Regions from separate parts of the Homo sapiens genome. Here region 2 is linked to region 1. The links are contacts of gene promoters, found by promoter capture Hi-C in human tissues and cell types (Jung and others, 2019). All regions are on one chromosome and are shown on one strand. Each heading gives the region's core, a stretch centred on a gene start or on the middle of the fragment in contact. The rest is flanking DNA. Distances are from core to core; before and after follow the strand shown.

Region 1 (6,760 bases), core at 3,293-5,792:
CACGAAAACCAAGATGGCAATGAAAGTGATGTCTGGTCATCCTCACTCTTCCTTATATGCTAATTATAATGCATTAGCATGCTAAGAGACACTCCTATCAGCACATGACAGCTTACAAATGCCATGGCAATATCAGAAAGTTACCCTATATGGTTTAAAAATGGGAAGAACCCTCAGTTCTGGGAATTACCCACCCCTTTCCTAGAAAACTCAGGAATAATCTACCCCTTCTTTAGCATATAATCAAGAAATAACTATAAGTATTCTCATCAAGCAGCCCAAGTTGCTGTTCTGCCTATGGAGTAGCCATTCTTTATTCCTTTACTCTCCTAATAAACTTGCTTTCACTTTACTCTATGGACTTGCCCCGAATTCTTTCTTACTCAAGGTCTAAGAACTCTCTCGGCATCTGGATCGGGAATCCTTCCTGGTAACAGTTCACAATGGATGGTTTTATACATTCATTGCTTTTAAGCTTGCTGATTCATTTATTCAACATACATTTAACATGTTTTTCTAGTGGTTGCCAACACAGTTCTAAATAATATGCTTTTGCTTCTTTTTTGATTTATAATTTTTACAAAGTATTTATTGTGTTTCCAATACATCTAATTATTTTTCATGAGTTTTCCCCATTTATAAGGATCAGAGAACCAAACCGGTTTTGTTGCACTGCCGTTACCCAGAAGTTTTGAAAAGTGAGAGTCAACTCAGACCTCTGTTCTGTAGGTCATTGGGAGAATTCCTTATATTGAACACGAAATGTGAAATAAAGGCGCAAGGATGAATATCGTCATAGTTAAACAAGTTAACATTAGTAAAGCACTCAAGACAATGAAACCACCTTTGCAAAAATTATATCAGTTAGAAAATTATGACAGTGAAAGAGGTCTGAGTTAACGCCCCCATTCCAACACCTATCTTGCCTTTCCCTTAATTATTTCTAAGCTACTGGGGCCAGCTAACTTTGAGAGACATTTAGGCTATAGTTTACATGATAACAGACCTTGCCTGAAACTCAACTGTTTTTGTAAAGCTAATGGGAAGCTATCAGGCTGTGGGGGAGGAGAGGAGCCTGAGTCCTGCTAAGGCGCAGATATGAACGATTGTCAGTCATTATTCTGGAGGTTATAAGATACTCAACTTTCCCAATTACTCCTGCAAATAACACCACTGATATGGTTTGGCTGTGTCCCCACCCAAATCTCATCCTGAATTGTAGTTTCCATAATCCCTACATGTTGTGGGAGGAAGCCGGTGGGAGATAACTGAATCGTGAGGGTGGTTACCTCCATGCTGTTCTGATAGTGAGTTCTCACGAGATCTGATGGTTTTATAAGGGGCTTTCCCCCTCCTTCACTCTGCACTTCTCCTTGCTGCCACCATGTGAAGTAGGACATGTTTGCTCCCCCTGTCACCATGATTGTAAGTTTCCAGAGGCCTCCCCAGCCATGCTTAACTGTGAGTCAATTAAACCTCTTTCCTTTATAAATTACCCAGTCTTGGGTATGTCTTTATTAGCAGCACGAGAGCAGACTAATACAACCACTATTTGTAGCTTTTTGAGATATCTTTCCAGGTTTTTTGCATGTCTGACACCCATGGCTCCACCTGGACCGCCAACCCCACTCCCACAGCCCCACCCAGAAGTGATTCAGACTGCAGGAGGACAGCTTTGACTCCCCCTATGATTTCATCTCAGCCTCAACCAATCAGCAGCAAGCACCTGTTACCTGGCCACTCCCACCCCTTCCTCCAAACTGCGTTTGAAAAACCCCCAGCCTATGAGCTTCGGACTTTGGATCAGATGACCTGAGCATGCACTCCATCTCCCACCTGGCATGGTCGGCCTCGTGTCTATTAAGCTCTTTTTCTACCACAATGCTATGGTCTTTCTTTATGCAGTGGGCAGGAAGAACCCCTTGGGTGGGGTGTTTAAAATAATGCCCAGCTTAGAGTAAGGGCTAGGAAATGGTAGGGAAAATGGATTAAAATCCAAATCAATAACTACTATAATAATGACATTAGAAATATTGGTTTGGGGGTACACAGGAGATGCAAGAGCCTATTGCTGTCAGAGGGTAGGGGAAAGCTTCAGAAAAGAGAAACTTTGTCTGAGTTTGGAATGGGTAAGAGAATTCTAAGCAGAGGGACCTGCTTGTAAGATCACAGAAGTGACAGAATAACAAGTAGGGGTATGTGGGAAAAGATTAATAATTGCCTCTCCCCCAAAGTTCCAGTTTATAGTTTGTCCATTTCTGTGGTATAAATACTCCTACTATGGCTGATTTCAAGCTATTAATGTGAAGTCAACAAAGGCAGAGTTGGTGCTATGGGCTAAACTGGGTGCCCCCCAAATTCATATGCTGAATCCCTAACCCTCAATGTGACTATTTGGAGACAGGGTCTTTAGGCAGCAAATCTGGTTAAATGAGATCATAAGGGTGAGTCCCTAATCCAATACGGCTGATGCCTTAGAAGAAAGGGAAGACAGAGCCCTCTCTCTACCCCATGTAAGGACACAGTGAGAAGGTAACCATTTGCAAGCCATGAGGAGAGCTTCCCCTAAATGAGCTAAATCTGCCTGCATTTGATCTTGGACTTCCCAGCCTCCAGAACTATGAGAAACAAATGCCTGTTGTTTAAGCTGCCCAGTCTATGGCATTTGTTATGGCAGCCTGAGCTAAGGCAGCTGGGAAGAGGTGAACAGTATGCTTGCTAGGCCGTAGAAGCCAATTGTAGCACACCCTTCCTGGGAGAAGAGTAAGTAGTTCCCTAAATCCTGAGCATAGGCATCCAGGGAGTGAAGGACACAAGTGATGCAGAAAAATTAGATGGGGCAGGAGTATAAAAGGGCTTGGACGACTTGCTAAATAACTTGGGACCTCATTTAACTAAATTCCCTCATTAAAGACCCTATCTTCAAATACAGTCACATTCTGAGGTCCCGGGGTGGGGGTGGGGAGTGGCGGTTAGGACTCCAGCATATGAATTTTGGGGAGGGGACACAATTCGGCCCTTAATAGCTCCAGTTGTGCCACCCTGAGTTGTTTTCCTGAACCCCGCCCACGTCTTTGTAAATAATAACTCTCAACTTCCCCTTTTGAGTGGACCATTTTTTCCTGTCCAAATTCTGATATAGGAAGGGTCTCCAAAATAGCTGCAAAGGGAACCTCAGTCTCAAAAGTTGGGATCCACTATATATCTGCTTTTACTTTCAAGCATTGAAACTAATGTCAATCAACTGCCTTTCTATTCTTAATATTTTATCCAAGAAATCGCTAGAATTCTTTCTCCTTTAAAAAAAAAAAAAAGCAAGTTACAAGCCGGGCGTGGTGGCTCACACCTGTAATCCCAGAACTCTAGGAGGCCGAGGCGGGTGGATCACCTGAGGTCAGGAGTTCGCGGACAGCTTGGCTAACATGACGAAACCCCGTCTCTACTAAAAACACAAAAATTAGCTGGGCATGGTGGCAGGCGCCTGTAATCCCAGCTACCCGGCAGGCTGAGGCAGGAGAATCGCTTGAACCTGGGAGGAGGAGGTTGCAGTGAGCCCACATCGTGCCATTGTACTCCATCCTGGGCGACAAGAGCAAAACTCCGTCTCAAAAACAAAAACAAAAACAAAACAAACAAAAAAACCCACTACCACCAACAAAAACAAGTTACATTGTGGGTTGGGGCCGCTGACAGGAGGAATAAGATGATGTTATGGAGCATTTCCTAGTCCCCTTTCCGACCCCATTTCCCTATTGTCCGACTTCAGGCTTCCAAGTGAGGACAGCACTTCCCAGGCAGTGACCCGCAGTCACTGCCCTCCCAGAGGACGTCCTGCCTCGCGGCCCTGGAAAGTCCACCTTCTCCTAGCACCGATCCTGAGCTGAGAAGCTCTGTCTGGTACAGCCATCCTGCATCGTGGGCTGCTTCTTTCCCCAGGCGAAGCTCAACTTCCTCCCATTGTTCTGAACCTCTGTGTGGACATCTTCTTTCTTCAAACGCACCACGGTAAAATTCTCGCCTGCCTCGAAACCCCGCCTACCTCTGAGATCTGAGGACGGATACTAAACGCTGGACTTAAGGCAATGTACACATGTAAGCAGGCTCTGTAGGCACTCACTCCGCCCAGGTGCGCGCGTGGCGGAGGGGGAACAGAGAAGCAGGACAGCTCTCCATCCTTCCCGTGTTCAGTCGTGGGAGACAACAAGAGAGGTCACAGCCTGGCGACCAAAAAGTGCGGCTAACTTCCCTGCCCAAGCTGACTTTCTCTGCAGGGTTCAAGGTTAATTGTGAGGATTTACATTCGCATGGCACACCCGCATCCCCCTCTACGTGGAAATATGTCTTAACTTTCATAACTGCCTTGCCAGCAGGGTATTTTTCGCTAGGGGCGAAGCGTCCTTCGCAAGCCACCCAGCTGACCGGCAGCGGAGACAGCTTTCTCGCCCTGCTCGCACGCAAGTAGAAAGGCGCTGCTGAGCCCGTCCCTCCAAACCACGTGGTCTTGCCCGTGCTTAAAAACAAACGCTGAGCCAGGCGCATGCGCCACGGGCCTCCCCGCACCAGCAGAAGTCGGAGTCGCTGTTGGGGGCGGTGTCTATGGTTGAGCTGAGGGCGCAGGCGCCACGGCCCGTCGAGCTGGGTTCCAAGGCGGCTGGCGGCGGTAGCGTCTCTGTTTCCTTGTGGGCGCTCGCGCGGCCCTGGGTGAGTGTTCGGGGGTCCCGGCCGAATGTCGGGCAGGGGGTGTCGGGGCCCAGCTCAGGCTTCTCGGGCGGGCCGCGGCCCCGCGCCTTGGCCTCGCCGTGGTGATTGAGCCTGTCAGCGAGGACGCACTGTAGCGGGTCTTAGGGCCAAGTGCCCGCTTCCGGCGGCCTCACCTGAGACCGGAAGTAGCGCCAAGGAGCGCTCACCTGAGGCGGCTTGAGTCCCTGGCCGGCCAGCGACCCAGCTACTTCTCCGACTTTGTATAAGGCCCCCTGCGCGCAGGGTCAGCTGGGTCCTTTTTGATCTCGATTAAAATGCTGGAGCTGTTATTTTAAAGAGAGTCGGGCTAGATGTACGTCCGACGTTTTGGGCGTTGATAGAGTCAAATTGATAAGAGTGTGGGCGGATGAGGCAGGCCGCCTGTAAATGCTGCTGTTACGTGACTTCCACGCAGCGTCTTAACTGCTGTCATCCTGTGACAGGCAGCCCTCGCTTTTCTCCTCAACTTTTCCCATCATCTTCTTGTTGCTTTGTCTCCTCCAATCCATTATCCGCACAGTTGTCCAGGTGGTCTCTGGCATAAAGTAGGTCATGCCATCATCAGCCTACTTAACAGTTTTCAGAGTCATTCCATTGCACTGGGAGTGGAATCCATGCTCGTGTTTTCCCAGGCCTTGTGTGATTTGGCCCTTGCCTGTCCCCTCTCAGAACTGTGCCTGTGTCCGACCAACCCTCCAAATGAGACCCAGCTTGCCCCTGGCTGCGGGAGCCCCAGTGATGGGGGAGGACGGTGAAGATACTAGTGTCCCAGATGATTAAGCCTTAGAAGATACTCTGCAAGACTTAGGCCATGAACGGAGCCCTTCTCTGCTCTTCTTAACTCAAAGTTAAAAATAAAGTCAAAAATTCGGTGTTCCAGCCTTCTTGCATTTTCACAAGTGCATCAGCTCTTTCTAGTCTTAAAAGTTACGCACGTTGTTGGGAGGCCGAGGTGGGTGGATCACCCGAGGTCAGGAGTTCGAGACCAGCCTTACCAACGTGGTGAAACCCTGTCTTTACTAAATACGAAAAATTAGCCGGGCATGATGGCATATGCCTGTAATCCCAGCTAATCGGGAGGCCAAGGCAGGAGAATCGCTTGAACCCGGAAGGCGGAGGTTGCAGTGAGCCTGGCGGAGCCTGGCGGAGGTTGCACTCCAGCCTGGGCAACCGGAGCGAAATTCCGTCTCAAAAAAAAAAAAAATTTCACACGTTGTTTCCTTGCAAGACGTTCACTTTACTTTCGACCTGACTGACTTATCAGATGTCACTTTATCAGAGAGGCCTCCTTGACCCCACATCTACCTCCACAATTTCAATTTGGTTTCTCTCATTTTGTCAGAAAGCCTTGTACTTTCCTCTTAACAGCAGTCACCACAATTATATTTGTGTGTGTGTGTGTGTGTGTGTGTGTATGTGTATATATATATATATAGTTTTTAAATGTCTGTTTTTCCCATGAGACTCTAAGCTCTTTGGGGACAGGAATTAGTTAACCTAGTACATTGCCTGGTGTAATTAACTCTCAGTAACTATTTGTTAAATGTATGATTTCTTTCTTTCTTTTTTTTTTTTTTTTTGAGACGGAGTCTTGCCCTGTCGCCCAGGCTGGAGTGCAGTGGTGCGATCTCGCTCACTGCGGCCTCCGCCTCCTGGGTTCAAGCGATTCTCCTGCCCCAGCCTCTCGAGTAGCTGGGATTACAGGCGCGCGCCTCCATGCCCAGCTAATTTTTGCATTTTTAGTAGAGACGGGGTTTCACTATGTTGGTCAGGCTGGTCTCGAACTTCTGACCTCGTGATCCTCCCGCCTCGGCCTCCCAAAGTGCTGGGATTACAGGCATGAGCCACCGCTCCCGGCAAATGTATGATTTATTTCACTTCTGAAATTCTTTAACCTGATAAGAGCCTTCTGGTTTCCAACTCTCACTTCCAGAAGACTTGGTTTTCTGGCCATTGCCAGATACTAAGTGACTTCTTGAACCCTTTCTCCCATTTCCAGGCCCCTTCTGTTTTTTTGTTT
Region 2 (6,690 bases), core at 1,963-4,462, 990 kb after region 1:
ATCATGCCTGGGAGATGTGTTGGTCCAGGCCTGGAAGTGGCCCCATCATCCCGTCACAGCCCATTGGCCAGAATGCAGTTGCATGGCTACACCTCGGAGCAAGAGAGTCTGGGAAATGGAGTCCACCTCTTTCCAGGAGGAAGGCAAGGCTGGTTTGGTGAACAGTCAGTAGTCCTGCCATTCTGTATAATGATCTGTTACCTTGGAGTAAGAAAGACACCTTCCTACCCTCACAGAATTAACAAGTTCAGGAAGCAGGCAGGAAGGCAGACATTGACTCACAGGATGAGAAAGGCTAGGAGGAGAGTAAAAAGGCAATTGTGTGAGCCTGGAGGAGGGGACCCTAATGCACGCAGGGAGTGCATGGGACTTCCAGGATAAAGTGACAACGACCCTGCTCTTTGAAGGTTAAGTGAGAGTCAGCCAGGTGAAGAATCAGGGAGAGCAGCTGGGCAGAAGCAGCAATGGGCAAGCACAGTGGGCACGGGGTCTGTGTGTCTCCTTCACACCTTAGTTCCAAGGCGCTCAGCACATAGGTAACTGAATTTAATGTAAGGATTGGAAGCAACAGGAGGTTAAGCTTTCTGCCAGAATGAAAAGTTGTCCTCTGTGGCAGGAGAATGGTGTCGGGCAGTGGTTCTCAAGCTTTAGTGAGCCTCCGCCTCATCTGGAGGGCTTGCAAAAAACACTGCTGAGTGGGCTCAGGGTCCAAGGTGGAGAGGCTGCCCCTGGTGTAGAGATAGTGGGGGACTTAGAATCCTGGAAGGGTGAATGAGATGGGCCTCACAAGCGGACTGAGTGAGAGGAGGTTTGAGTTAATTGGGGGCAGGCAAAGCTATAACCAATGTTTTAATTCTAATAATTATTATTCCAAGAGGAGGAGGACCGTATAATGTATAAGATGCTGGTTTGTGCTTTGATCTCCTGGCCCTTTTTAATCCCTAGGCCACTTGCCTCAGGGGAAGGTGAGGTCTCTGCAGCAGAAAGCAGAAATCTCCTGCTCTCCCACCCCAGATAATTGATGTGGACAGGGTCGGGAAAGAGGCGTTCCCCTAGACTGGTCACCCTGCCCCCAGCAATGCCCCAGGAAGGTGATAGGCATGGTGCCACCAGGAAAGCAGGCTCCAGACACCAGGGTCCCGCCTCAGACAGACACACCATGGTCAAGAAAGGCAGGAGAGCTACCTAGCTTCCAGCCCCAAGTGACTGCAGGTAAAGACATCAGGTGACCAGGAGGGACCAAGAACAGCCCATCCCATTGCCAGGCCCCATGTAAGCCTGACCACAGCAAAGAGGACCCCTTCCCTCCATCTCAATAGTAGCTGGGACTCAGCTCCCTTCCAGCCTGGGAACATAGGGCTTGGAGATAGAATTAACATGATTCTTTCTAACAAATATCATATTTGTTGAGTGCCTGAGGTTGTAGACCAAGGTGTGTATGAGTGCTAGTGGGCTAAACATTCACTGAGTTCCTTCTAAGGAATGAAGCTGAGCACACCACGTTTATCCTCACCACACTCCTGGGACTAACCTCTACTAACCCATCTAACAGGCAAGGCCCCTGGGACTCTGACAAGCTAAGTAACTTGCTGGGATCCGAGGGCCGGTGAGCGGTGGAACTGCAGCTTGAGCCAGCTCTAACCCCAGAGCCCTGCTCTTCCTCAGCCTGCTGAGGCTAGCTCCCCCGGGGCAGGCATGAAGGAGCCAGGCCCCACAAAGGGACTGAGACTCAAGGACCCCCAGGTCCTGCCCACCTGGTACTTCTGTCTTGCCAGGGCAGCTGCCTGGCAAACCCTGCCCCTCCCAGCCCTTTGAAAGCTGTCTGCTCCTTGCAGACTTGATCCTGGGGGCCTCTCAGACCTGGGCTTTTTGCTGATGTGGGCATCCAGCCCCAGGCCAAGTTTAGGCCTCCCTTTAAATCCACAAGGAGCGGGTGGGGAGTGGAGAGGCCTGCTTTGGCACTCTGGGCAAAAAGAGTTGCTAAGATCCCAGAGCAGGCCTGTCCCCAAAAAACGGCCATGTTTGGTGAGATGAATTAGGTCATCCGTTAAGCTTTGTAACTCATTGCTAAAATCCGTCTTCTGGAATTAGCACAATGCTATTGAAGGGAACCAAGTGGGTTGGTGCTATCAAAGGGAACCAAGTGGGTTGGCTGCAGGCTTGAGACCAGAACCATAAGTCTTTCTAGTGAGTAACCGTAAATGGGGTGGGGCCGGGGGAGTGGAGATTAAGAGTCCTGGTTGGAGCAGGTTGCAGAAGCCAGCTCTGGCTAACTCTAGCAAAGGGGAAATTCACCAGAAACCAGGGGGTAGGATGTGATGGGAGTGACACTTGTGGAAGGGGCAAGCGGCTGGGCTGTCACGGGGCCAGGAGCTGGGAGGGGCGAGCGGGTGGTACTCTGTGCTGGGAAGGTTGAATCTCGCCTGGCTCTGCAATCCCGGCATGGCTCACTTGCCGAAAGCCCAAAGTCTCAGTATCTGTGCTTAAGCTACATGCCTACCCCTGACTACACTGGGGTGGTGAGGAAGGGCCTATCCACTCTGGCATCTGGACCAGCCCTCCCAAGACTTCGCCTAGTGGGGGCAAGGAGACTCCAAAGGAACTTGGGTGCCTTCCAGAGGGGAGAGTAGAAGACAAACAGCCAGTCTCTGTCAAATGTTCACTGCTCCAGATGGTCCATGACTGTATTTCTGCAGGGCTGAGTGTCACATCATTGGCCTTGCCCTTTCCAAGTGCCAGACAAGGGGCCAGGACGGGATGCCTTTTCAACAACATTGCACCGAGCCGATGGCCCCCCACACTCAGGAGCAATTCCTACTTGTGGGGAAGGACCTGAGTGTGCAGTGCTGAGGATTAGCCCGAGGAAGACGTGAATGGCCACCCTGGATCTGAGGAAAAGGAGGAGGAGGAGAGTGCTCTGTTTTCTGGTGCAGAAGGAGGTGAAGGGTACCACAGCTGCTCTGAGGCCTGGGTCTAGTCCCCATCCTGGAGCACCTGTCTGCTTTGGGCTGGGAGCCCCATATTTCTCAAGATCAGGGTCAGGAGACTCGGGGGCCAGCTGTACCATTCAGAGGCCTGGCAAGCTCTCTGCTCTCCCACAGAGGTCCATGCTCCTTCCCTCCCACTGGGCTCCTTGGGGCCTCCCCCCCAACTCCCCAAACACCAGATGGGAATCCTGCAGGCAATAGGAGGCCTGGACAGGGATGGCTTTGAGGTCTTGGGTTTTCAGCTCCAACCAGTCTTCAGAGACCATGGTAGTAGCAAAGCTAGCATTGTGTCCCATGGGAATCAGGGCCATGGGGTTGATTGTCGCCAGACACACCACACGCGGATGCAGATGTTGCCTAGGCAAGCTGGTGTCTGCATGTAGAAAGGAAGCTTCCGAGGAAGAGCTGGGGAGGCAAGCCTGGGAGCCATCTTCCTGTTTGTGCCCATTTTCCACACACTCTCAACAGACATCAAGGGCCTCACAGCATCTAGTCAGTGCTGTTCCAGACCACCCATCTCTCCAGGCCAGAGTCAGGGAGAGCTGGATGTGAGCATAGCCATGCTACTCAGGGACTGTGTGGGTTTTGACAAGTCACAGAGGGCTCCGTGCCTCAATGTCCCATAAACTGGGGGTGAGAATATTGCCAAGCACCTTGGGTTGTGGTGAGGATTCACTGAGAACCCAGATCCTGGCTCATAGTAGGTACCTGGTCTAGATAAGCTCCCCTCCTCCCTGCATGCTCTCTAATCATTAATCGTTATGATTAATAACAGCAACCCAATCCCATCACAATGCTGTGTGATGAGTGCTCTGATAGAGGTGTCCCTGACTGAGACACTTTTATCTTTAGCTTCAGGATTTCCCTTGGCCAACGGCACAGTAAGTAACCTCAGAGTTCAAAGCATTCAGCAAACAATGGAAAGGCAGAGCCACCAGAAATGTACACATGATTTTCATGACAGGTATGGTAATGCCATGTTAGCTAGCGGAGCCTCTTTCTCTACTGCCCGTATGGACCTATGTTGCAACACCAATTGGAATTGGATGGAATCTGTGCCCTGTTGCCAGGGTCACCCCTAACGGAATGGAGAGATCAGTAATCATCCCAGCTGGTGTCATACTGAATTGTTTAAAACACAAATCATAATTGATGCCAAGTAAAAGCTCCATGTGCCCATTAAAATATGGCATTATGGAAAAAGTAAAGTACATTTGAATCCTTAAAAATAAAACAAAAACTATGTGTTAGAAAGATCACTCAGGGTAGACCAACTGAGGGGCTTACAAGAACTGTAATGTCTGATGCTCATCTCCACCAATGTCTATTCTGTGCCCCCACCCCTACCCTGGCAATGTCGACAGAAAAGACCACACTGCCACAGGAGTAGCGGGGACCCCTGTGGGAGGCAGCGCAGAAGCCAGGCTGCTTAAAGCAGAGCCCTGAGTCTTTCGTGCATTTACAAGTTTATGTGTCAAGTTCTCCAGGATCAAGCCAGGGAGTCCTGATCACTAACAACATCTCTGCCTTGGGGGCCTGTTTAAGTGGCTTCCAGACTCAGCTCAGACCCTAGCTCTCAAGGGCAACCAGATTAGATTTCTTCCCTTCTCTGAATCTCAGTTTCCCCCTGTGTAAGACGAGAGGGCTGGCCCAGTGACCTCCGACGTGTCTGCTTGAACGAGTAGAATGGCACCAGCTGGCATTCTATAGCCAAGTTTGTCCAGAGGGAGCCAGTTCCTGCCCGTCTTATGGCTACACAAGGTCATTGAAGTCGCCCTCAGGCATGGAGCTTGTAGCTGCCTGGCCTTATCCAGCCTGCCCTTGGAGCAGATAGGAGACTGCTGCCTGCTGTCTTAAAGGGAGGCCTGACCTTGAAGGAGAGCCAGTGTGCACAGATTACTCCGCAGAGGAGACAGATACTGTGTGTCTGACATGCCCAGAGCATCCCTGATCACATTAGCCGCCGCCTGAGTGGGGAGGATGCTGATACCGGCCTATCTCGGCACCTGGTACCAGCCAGCCTGAGTCTTGGCCTGACCTCGTGCAGCCCCTGCTGAGGTTGTCTGCAGAGCGCCAGATGATGGGTAATGACAGAAATGAAATTAGATGAGAAGTTTGCCAGTGATCCCCACCCCTGAGATGGGAGTGGCTCTTACACTTCCTGGCTTTGCAGTGGGGTTCTCCTGTCTTAGCCTCACTTCTCTCAGCTCAGCACAGGACCAGGTGTGGGAAACTCCTGCAGGCTCCCTGGAAAGAGTCCCCTTGAGCAGGATCATTCCTTTGGCCAAAATCGTGTCCTAGAGCAGCGCTCTTCTATAGAGATGTAATGCAAGCCATGTTTGTGGTTGTAAATTTTCTAGTGAGTACACATGTGAAAATATCTGCATAAATATATACACCTACTACACACTCACAAGGACTAAAAATTTAAAATTTTTTTAAAACTAAAAGGAAAGAAAGCTAGTGAAATTGTTCTTAATAATGTATTTTTATTTAAACTACTGGCTCCAAAATACTATCATTTCAATATGTAATCAAAATAAACATTAGTGAAATATTCCACATTCTTTTTTGCTTCCAAGTCTAAATTGGTATTTACACTTAAAGCACATTTCCATGCAGACACTAAATTTTCACTGGAAGTACTTGATATATATTTACTTATTCTAATTTTTTAATTTTTTAAATTGACACATAATAATTGTACATATTCATGGGGTACATAGTGATGTTTTGATACATATATTGTACAGTGATCAGATTAGGGTGATTAGCATATCCACCATCTCAAGCATTTACCATTTATTTGTGTTGCGAGCATTCACTGTCCTCCTATTTGAAATTATGTAATATATTAATTAACTATAGCCATCTTTGATCGGCATTTAGATTTCATAAAATGTATGATTGAAAAGTAGAGTCACATACCCAAGTTATTCCAAACATACTTAAATGTTTTTCAGCAATGGAACTGAATGTCAGTTTTTAAACTAATGTAAATTAAATTAAATTGACAATTCCATTGCTCAGGCACACCTGCTTCATTCACATGCTCAGGACCCACATGTGTGGTGGCACCGTATTGGACAGCACAGGCCTAGATGAGAACACCAGCATAGAACAGGTGCTCTACAGGCAAAAATGAAAGAAGCAAGGGGAGAAAGAGAAAGAAGGAAGGATGAACAAAGAAAGAACGGCAGGGATGGGGAGGGGGTGGGAGCCTCAGACTTGGAGTAAGACAGAGCTAGATTCACATTTGAGCTCTGCCATTTGCTCAATAAAAGAACCTGGACCAATAACTTAAATCCCATGGGCTTCATTTTCATCATCTGATCGTAGAAGGGAAACTGCCTACTTGGCAAGACAGCTGTAATCATCATGTGAAGTACGATATGCAGACGGCAGGACAGTTTCTCCCCTGACCCCACCCAGTCCTTTCTCTTTTTTTTTTTTGACGGAGTCTTGTTCTGTCACCCAGGCCGGAGTGCAGTGGCACGATCTTGGCTCACTGCAACCTCCACCTCCCTGGTTCAAGCAATTCCCTGCCTCAGCCTCCCAAGTAGCTGGGATTACAGGTGCACACCACCATGTCCGGCTAATTTCTTTGTATTTTTAGTAGAGACGGGGTTTCACCATGTTGGCCAGACTGGTCTCGAACTCCTGACCTCAGGCAATCGGCCCACCTTGGCCTCTCAAAGTGCTG

Evidence for each region. The method cuts DNA at HindIII sites, captures the fragments that hold promoters and counts their contacts. A contact is called where the count stands out against the background at its distance.
Region 2: a fragment that was not itself captured here is called in contact with the fragment with the promoter of ERCC6 in region 1 in 1 of the 25 tissues and cell types used here (dorsolateral prefrontal cortex).

Annotation. Positions count from the first base shown.
Region 1 is chr10:49,536,903-49,543,662 of GRCh38, reverse strand. It overlaps ERCC6 (ERCC excision repair 6, chromatin remodeling factor), which reads left to right and starts at 4,542. Exons shown (of 21, transcript NM_000124.4): 1 at 4,542-4,701. RefSeq lists enhancers at 3,860-4,099, 4,130-4,189 and silencers at 4,610-4,899, 5,845-6,033. The HindIII fragment of the contact is 14,771 bases long and covers 1,285-6,760 here.
Region 2 is chr10:48,543,871-48,550,560 of GRCh38, reverse strand. The region is part of intron 3 of ARHGAP22 (Rho GTPase activating protein 22); the gene reads left to right. Among named protein-coding and RNA genes, the nearest start is that of ARHGAP22-IT1, 36 kb to the right of the region's middle. The HindIII fragment of the contact is 3,725 bases long and covers 1,350-5,074 here.